Regions from separate parts of the Homo sapiens genome. Here all the other regions are linked to region 3. Evidence: promoter capture Hi-C in 16 types of primary human blood cells and fetal thymus (Javierre and others, 2016). All regions are on one chromosome and are shown on one strand. The core of a region is centred on a gene start or on the middle of the fragment in contact, and the rest is flanking DNA. Distances in the headings are between cores, read along the strand shown. Region 1 holds the start of KCNIP2-AS1 (KCNIP2 antisense RNA 1). Region 2 holds the start of PSD (pleckstrin and Sec7 domain containing). Region 3 overlaps PPRC1 (PPARG related coactivator 1).

Region 1 (2,700 bases), core at 169-2,668, 330 kb after region 3:
GCCACCACGCCCGGCCTATTTTTATTTTTTTATAAAGACTGGGTCTGGCAATATTGCCCAGGCTGGTTGCAAACACCAACACTGCGCCCAGCCATCTGGGCCTGATAATTTAAAAGGACTCTCATTCCTCAGATAAAAGTTCTTTTCGGCCAGGTGAGGTGGCACGTGTCTGTAATCCCAGCACTTTGGGAGGCTGAGACTGGAGGATCACCTGAGCCCAAGAGTTTGAGACCAGCTTGGGCAAGATGTTGAGACCCCCGTCTCTACCAAAAATGAACAAATTAAAAGAGTGTGGTGGCGGGCACTCGCCTATAGTCCCAGCTACTCGGGATGGCTAAGGCGGGAAGATCCCTTGAGAGCCCAGGAATTCGATACTTAAGCTATGATTGCACTAGCCTGCGTGGCAAAATGAGACCTCTTCTCTTACAAAAAAAAAAAAAAAAAAAAAATTGTGTTCTCAACCCCAACGGACCACAATATCCAGTAAAGCTGCTATGGCCCCTAACTCTCAGCACAGGAGGTCCCTTAAGAAAATGCTTGTCCGGCCGGGCGCGGTGGCTCACACCTGTAATCCCAGCACTTTGGGAGGCCGAGGCAGGTGGATCACCTGAGGTCAGGAGTTCAAGACTAGCCTAGTCAACGTGGCGAAACCCCGTCTCTATTAAAAACACAAAATTAGCCGGGTGTGGTGGCGGGTGCCTGTAGTCTCAGCTACTCGAGAGGTTGAGGCAGGAGAATAGCCTGAGCCCAGGAGGTGAAGGCTGCAGTGAGCCGAGATTGCGCCACTGCGCTCCTGCGCTCCAGCCTGGGCGACAGAGTGAAACTCTGTCTCAAAAAAAAAAAAAAAGTTTGCTCCTAACCCCCATCTCAACAATCCAGGACTGAAAAGAAGAGGGACCATGAAAGTCCCTGAAACTACAAGTTGGGCTACGGCTAAAGAAGGTAAATATCAGACTGAAGTGTAAGATGGACATTACTAAGTCTTAATCATCATTTCATGTTTATACCTCACAGGTTGAGATAGATTTCTCAAGCATCATAAATGTAAAGTGCATTAGGGTAGGTCTACAAGAGAGCTCTGAGAACATACAGCAAGGAGACCCAAACCCATCTAGGGCTCAGGGAAGGCTTCCCAAGGAAGCGATGCCCATGCCGAGGCCGAAGGGATCTCATGCCCCACTGCACACACCGCGCGCTCCCCATTCCCAAACAAGGCAGGCTTTTCATGCCTCCCTACCTTTGGACTCTGTTGTTCGTTCCACTTTCCTGGAGTGCTGTCTTCCCTCCCCTTCTGCTCAGTCAGGCTAACTTCACATCCTTTATAATCCAGCTGAAAAGTGAAGCCATGCCCACGGCCTCTCCCCAAAGGAGGAGTGAGTATCACCTGTTCTGAGCTCCGAAGTTCTTGGGGACACCTTGTGGGAACTGCGTGTGTGGTGGCTTGTCTCCACCACCGTACTGTGAGCTCATAGTGTTCTAGAGCCCAGCACGAGGCAAGCTCTATAGATGTCTACTGAATGAAGGAATGAACGAATGATTACATTTTAAATGGGATTAGGGGAAAATGATTCAAGGCAGAGGGGTGAGCTGAGCTCCTTGGAATGGTGTCTTTACCGAACCAAGCCTGGGTTAGGCAGATGTAATGAGCCCACCTATTACAAGAATCTCCATAGAAAGTAGGTCAGTTCTTTCCTATCTCTTTAAGAACGAGAGGCCGCGGCTCCGCGCCTGCGCACTGAGAGAATAAACACCTCTCCTTTTCACCTTCCCCCCTTCTCCCTATTGCCCCAACCGGCGGCAGCCTCCTCCCATACTCCCCTCCTTCGGGGCGGGTAATGGTCCGTCCGTCCCAGGGTGCCAGGCTTGTTTCGGAGGGTGGCAAGCAGAAATGGTACATTCCACTGCCTTCATTACCTTCTGCTTTTCGCGTCTCCTGTTCTATTTCCCCCTACCTAAAGAAGCTTAATAGGCTAGCCCCAAAGAAGGCGGGGGAGCCGGGCGGAGGGGACCGGTCTGAGCCGGTCTGCAGCGCAAGCGCAGTGCGGATAAACAGGAAGCGGGCGGTGGAGGCAGCAGCAGAGGGAGAGCTCGGGGCTTGGAGGGGAAACAGCGGAAGACCTAAGATTATCGGGAGGGCAGCAGAGGCAGAGAACGAGGACAGGACCCTTGGCCGTCTTCTTCCAGGGAACGAGAGGTCACAGCCTCGCTCTCCGCTTAGGCTTCTGGCGCCCCAGCTTAAAGCCGAGGCTGCGGCTGACAAAGGGCTCGCGCCGGTGCCGCCGCCCTTCTCATCCGGGCATTCGGGTCCCTGCGGAGAGGGAGGGGGAAGGGCAGAGGGGGAGGGGAAGGAGCCGGAGGGGCGCACACTTGGAGCTGAAGCCCTCTCCAGGGCTCCGGGCCGGTGCCCCAACGGACAGAGGTCGAGGAGGACCCGCAGAGGTGGCAGCGGCCGGGGGCAGGAGGATGGTGCAGAAGGAGAGTCAAGCGACGTTGGAGGAGCGGGAGAGCGAGCTCAGCTCCAACCCTGCCGCCTCTGCGGGGGCATCGCTGGAGCCGCCGGCAGCTCCGGCACCCGGAGAAGACAACCCCGCCGGGGCTGGGGGAGCGGCGGTGGCCGGGGCTGCAGGAGGGGCTCGGCGGTTCCTCTGCGGTGTGGTGGAAGGTGAGCGCCCTCCTTCCCTCCCCGTTTTGGCACTAACA
Region 2 (2,700 bases), core at 155-2,654, 270 kb before region 3:
TGCACCGCTGACGGTCTGGCGCTCCGGTGCAACCGCTTCAGCTGGCTCATCACAACGAAAACCACTTCTCATCTGTTATCTCGTCAAGGCTTCGGGCACCTCTGAAAGGTGGGCAGGTCTATGCTATCAGTCCATTTTAAAGATGGGGAAACCGAGGCCCTGGAGAGGAAGCCCCTTGTCCAGAATCAAGCCAGACGGGAATAGAGAACCCAGACATCTGGTTTTCCCAGAATTCCTTCCACGTTTCCCCACCCCGCAAGGCAGCGAGAAGGGAGAAGCTAGCAGCGGGGAGAGACAAGAAAGGGGTCAAGTTAGGTGAGGGCTTGCTATCTCTTCTTCCTCAGCCTGCTTAGGGAGGGGGTAGCTGGGAGGACAGACCCCTGCAAAGATAGAGCCACGTGAGCGCGCACCACCTCCGGCCGCGCGCCTCGTCCCCCTCCCCTCTTTGTTCGCGCCTCTGCGCCTGCGCAGTGCGACAAATCTGGCGCTGTCCCCTTCAGCACCACGCGGAGTCCGCGCCGCCCCTCCCCGCGGTGAGCCCCGCGCGCCCCCGCCTCGCACGTCCTCGCGCCCCCTGACTGCCCGAACAGACCCCTTCTTCCTTCCGAGGTCACCATCTGCCCGCCCTGGCCCTCCCAAAGAGAGTAGTTGCCATAGTAACTCCAGCGGCTCTTTCTTAAAATAGCAGGGCCCCCTTCTACCCTGGCCAAGGGCACAAGGGTTGCCGGTCCCCCACGTCTTCCGGTCCCTAGTTCATCCCGTCTAACCTCTTACCCCTGGGCAGGCGTGACGACACCTAACTCAGGCAGCAAGGAAGTTCTTCCTGAAGTCTGATTTAACATCCCCCTGCTGCATCCTGGGAGGGTGGTCAGGGTTGGATCTCCTGGGTCCGAGACTCAAAACCCCTGGCGGGTTCAAGACGGTGTTCCCTAGATCTCCTTTCCATAGTTGATGGTCTCCTGGATTTAGGGGGCGGGTCCAGTCTACACCCATACCGTGTGCTTGGCGCGGCCGCGTGCTCGTGGGGGCGGGAGCGCGTGTGGCATGTAACAGGTCATGTGGCAGCCTCCTAGGGACACGCGTGGGGTCTGGAGCGGGACACGCGTGTGCAGCCGGGCCTTACGTGTGGCTCAAGGGGCGGTGGGCGAGAGAGACGTGGACACAAGTGGGGTGGGGCACGTGAGGGTCTGGGGAATAGAACCAGGGGTTCCATGCGCCCTCCTCCTTGTCTGGGGCGGGTCTTAGGTTGGCGGGAGAGCCCAGCGGGGACCTAGCGACAAGGGGGGCTGGCAGCCTCCGGGGCTCTGGGCCCTGGGAGAGGGCGGGGGGTGGGGGGGATTAGCGTTGCCTGAGCGGCGCGTAGGGGGTAGGGGGAGGGACTGAGAGGCGGGCGGGCCTGGAGCAAACGGGAGCCGCGCTGCCTTCACAGCTCAGCTGGGCCCAGCCTCTCCTCTGTCTCTCCTCGGTCTCAGCTCTGGGCGAGCAGCGGTGAGTACTGAGGTGGCATTGAGTTGGGGCTGCACCGGGTATGCGCTGGGACCCCGTTGAGCTTCCGGAACCTGCCTGGCAGGGTTGCTACTCCTGACCTCTGCCCCTCCCCTGCATTGCCACCAGAGGCCCCTTTACCTGGTTATGGTCTCTCCTGGGCGGGATCTGTCTTACCCCTGGGGAGAGAGGGAGAGGAGAGGAATATGGGTGCAGATTCCCCTCAAGAGACCCCAGTAGGTGGGGGGGAGGGGACGGTGTGTGTCCCTGCTTGAGTGTGTACATCTGTATGTGTACATCTGTATGTGTATGTGACTGTGAGCAGTAGGTCTCTGTGAGTGTCTGATACACCTGGACCTCTGTGTGCACTGGAGAATGACAGCTTGTGTATATATTTGGGTACCTCTTTGTGTGTTCCTGTTTGATGATGGTGTGTGTGTAAAACAAGCATGTGCCTTTTCATTACACACATACTTGTTATGACTGTGAGAGTGCATGAGGGTGTGTCTTTGAGCAGTGTGTGTGTGTGTGTGTCTGTGTGTGTGCCAGAGGGTGTTGCCTATGAATGTGTTTAACTGTGTACTGACATATTTGTCCTTATGTATGTGTGTGCGTGTGTGTGTGTGTGTGTGTGTGTGTGTGTTTGTGTGTGTGTAGGTGCCTGTCTGTACCTGTATGAAGAAAAGAATGTCCCTGGCCGGGTGCGGTGGCTCACGCCTGTAATCCCAACACTTTGGGAGGCCAAAGTGGGTGGATCCCCTGAGGTCAGGAGTTTGAAACTAGCCTGGACAACATGGTGAAACTCCATCTCTACTAAAAATACAAAAATTAGCCAGGCATAGTGCTGAGCGCCTGTAATCCAAGCTATTCAGGAGTCTGAGGCAGGAGAATCACTTGAACTTGGGAGGCGGAGGTTGCAGTGAGCTGAGATAGCGCCATTCCACTCCAGCCTGGGCAGCAGGGGCGAAACTCCATCTCAAAAAAAAAAAAAAAAAAGAAGAATGTCCCTTTCCCACTCAGTATGTATATATTGGGGGTAGGAGCCTCTGCTCAGGCTTTTCTCCCCACTTCCATGCTGTGCCTCTCAGCCCTTCAGCATCCCTATATAACACCTGTTCCTCTTCCCTCTCCTTCCAGGAGGCCTGAGTTTCCCTTCCCTGAGTGAGGGGCCTCCATAAGAGAGACTATAGGGGTCACAGGGCTGTATGATGGTGA
Region 3 (2,700 bases), core at 141-2,640:
TCTAGCTAATTTTTTCTATTTTTGGTAGAGATGGGGTTTCATCATGTTGGCCAGGCTGGTCTCGAACTCCTGACCTCGTGATTTGCCTGCCTCAGCCTCCCAAAGTGCTGGGATTACAGGCGTGAGCCACCATGCCCAGCCCCCTTGGGTTCTTTGTATGTCAAACTAAGGTAAGTCTGCCTAGCCCCACTCACAAAGGGTTAGGAACCCTTCTGGGGAGGGGATGAAGCATTCCAAAGCTTTAGGCCCTCCCTCCACTCACCAAGATCAGAATAGCTCCTCTTGCAGAACTGCCTTCGGCCCCCAAAGCAGAGATCAAAGGGCTGCTCATCTGCCTGCCGCAGCTTGTGGCCACTCTCAATGGCTGCAAATGCCTCCTCAGCATAGCGATAAGTGACGAAGCCGTAGTTGTCCCTAGTAGGAGGAGAGTGAGGCAGGGGCTGGAGTGGCTATATGGGCCCATGCCATAGAGGAGACACAGCATCCCAAGGTACAGAGGTGGTTCTTCTCATTCCCAGTGGCCAACCCTCTGACTGCAGAAATGAAGGTGCCCCATATTGCTCAGCACACCAGAGCAAGGAGGCAAGACAAAGAAACACCAAGGTAGATGAATGGGATAGAAAGAACATCCTGAGCCTGGGGCCCAAGCTTACCCTTGGACACGGAAGTGGATGGTGCACTCCTCAATCTCTCCAAAAACGGAGAACCTCTGTTTCAGCTCTGATCGAGTCATGCGGCCAGGTATCTTTCCAATGAAGACCACCCTTCTTTCTTCCTATGTTTGGAAATGAAAAAAAATCAACACACCATTAGCCAGGGCTACAGCTGCAGGCAGCTCTCTGAGCTCAAGGCTCAGGGGGTAAGCCCCATCCTCCCATGATCTGTTCCTCTACTCACTATTGCACGCTCCTTTTGTAGCACTCTTTGCCTTTGGTAATGGTCATGTGAACGATAAGAGCTGTACCTGACAAAAGAGGGTGTCATCAGCCCCCCAAACATAAGACAATTCAAGACTCAACTCTTAGGCACCTGCATCCCAGGTGCATGGCGCTCCCTGAACACATGCTCACCGCCGCCTCCTGTCACTTCTCCGGCGGGGGGATGGGGATCGTGAGCGGCTTCGAGAACTGGATGATGAGGATGAGGAAGACGAAGAGGAAGATGATGACGAAGAAGAGGAAGAGCATCTTCGAGAACGTCCAGAGGAACTACAGCTGGACCTGAAGGATAAGAGGGCATGCAGGAATGCTGGGAGTGGTTCAGGTATACTCTGCTTATCTCACCCAGGCCCCAGTCCTGCCTTTCTTTTAGGAAGCTCAGGACCAAAGACAAAGCAGAGTAGAAGAGGTCTAGAAGAACAATTTTCATTCAGAGATGAACAAACTGAGGCCCTTCATGGAACTTTAGGTGTACCTGGAATGTTGTGAAGTGTTTTGGAAGAGATCACATTTTCAATTGTGCACTTAAAAATTGAAAAATATTTAACAAATCAGAAAGAGGAAGAACAATAAATGGAGACTCAGGGAGAGGGGTGAGCCCTAGGTCTCACACCCAGCTATCTGTGGTGCTGGGGCCAAGCCTGGGTCTTTTGGGTTACTATTGCTCCCCTACCAGGTCTCACTGAAATACTGTGACCATGAGAGAGGTTAACTGCTAGACTTGTAGTATGGGCCAGTTCTGAAGACATATATCATCTCCAAAACCCAAGAATTCTTCATTAAGTGGGAAAACTTGGTTACTGAGAAAAAAAGATACTGCCAGGAAATAGATGAGGCCATAGTGACACCCAAAGGAACTGCCCCAGACACCTTCCTCAGCAGATGATTAAGGGAAGAACTATTTTCTATTAACAAGTAACCCACTACCTCACATAGCGCCCAGAATACCAAAAATGAAGGCTGATACAGTATGTGAAAAAAATCAACATGGTCAAAATCAAACCCTAAAAGTCTCCCCAAGGCAGGTCTCAAAGAAGCAGGAGACCTGACACCCCAAGCTCCAACAGGGGACAGAAGCAATTGTCTCACAGCTTGCCTCCTTCAACAATCCAGGAAAAGGGAAAACACAAAAGCCAAAGTCAGAAATAGAAGCCTTAGCGCCTGAAAGTACCAAAGTCAACGGGTAAAAGCTTTCAAAGTAAACCACAGAAGTACGTGAACTTCCTAAATGGAGAGGACCTACAGGGCCATCAAAGCTCACCTTCGCCACCTCTTGTGTGGGGGGGAGAGGGACCTGGACCGAGATCGGGATGAGGAAGACGATGATGAGGATGAGGAAGATGCTTCGCTAGTCCGGTTGGACCCAGAGCTGACAGAACGGCTGTTGCGGCCTCGGCGGCCCTGCCAGCCCTGGCTTGAGGGGCTGGCTGACCTGCAGGCTTTTCGGTAACAGCGCATTGACCGCTGCTTGGCTGAGGGTTCAGGGGGAGTCCTAGTGTTCATGTCATTCCGGCAGGGTGAGGCCTCAGGGGACAGCAAGCTGGATGGGGCAAGGCAGGGTGCTGAGGGATCTGCCTGCTCACTGCTAGTCCTGTGATCAAGCGGCTCCCGGGAGGCAGCTATGCATGGGGGCGGAGGGGCAGCTGGGCCCAAGGACAAGACAGGTTTGATGGTGATGTCCTGATGGCGCTTGACATTCCATCGGGAGCCCACCTCTGGAATGACTAGGGCAGGCATCTTTTTTGGGGGGGTCCTGCTCCGG

Evidence for each region. Contacts are between HindIII fragments. The CHiCAGO score rates a contact against its expected background, and 5 or more counts as called.
Region 1: a contact is called between the fragment with the promoter of KCNIP2-AS1 here and a fragment that was not itself captured in region 3, in 7 of 17 cell types (naive B cells, total CD8 T cells, total B cells and 4 more). The highest score is 11.8, in naive B cells.
Region 2: the fragment with the promoter of PSD here is called in contact with a fragment that was not itself captured in region 3 in 6 of 17 cell types (endothelial precursors, M1 macrophages, erythroblasts and 3 more); the score reaches 9.3 in endothelial precursors.

Annotation. Positions count from the first base shown.
Region 1 is chr10:101,817,786-101,820,485 of GRCh38, reverse strand. It overlaps KCNIP2-AS1 (KCNIP2 antisense RNA 1), which reads right to left and starts at 1,418. Exons shown (of 3, transcript NR_045118.1): 1 at 1,238-1,418. OGA (O-GlcNAcase) reads left to right here and starts at 2,042. Exons shown (of 16, transcript NM_012215.5): 1 at 2,042-2,662. The coding sequence starts at 2,464. RefSeq lists enhancers at 2,013-2,132, 1,934-2,509 and silencers at 2,283-2,342, 2,423-2,482. The HindIII fragment of the contact is 3,022 bases long and covers 1-1,963 here.
Region 2 is chr10:102,417,489-102,420,188 of GRCh38, reverse strand. It overlaps PSD (pleckstrin and Sec7 domain containing), which reads left to right and starts at 1,404. Exons shown (of 17, transcript NM_002779.5): 1 at 1,404-1,488. The HindIII fragment of the contact is 10,611 bases long and covers 1-2,700 here.
Region 3 is chr10:102,146,892-102,149,591 of GRCh38, reverse strand. It overlaps PPRC1 (PPARG related coactivator 1), which reads right to left. Exons shown (of 14, transcript NM_015062.5): 9 at 2,200-2,700; 10 at 1,071-1,220; 11 at 898-964; 12 at 654-775; 13 at 263-414. Among named protein-coding and RNA genes, the nearest start is that of NOLC1, 4.1 kb to the left of the region's middle. The HindIII fragment of the contact is 1,480 bases long and covers 651-2,130 here.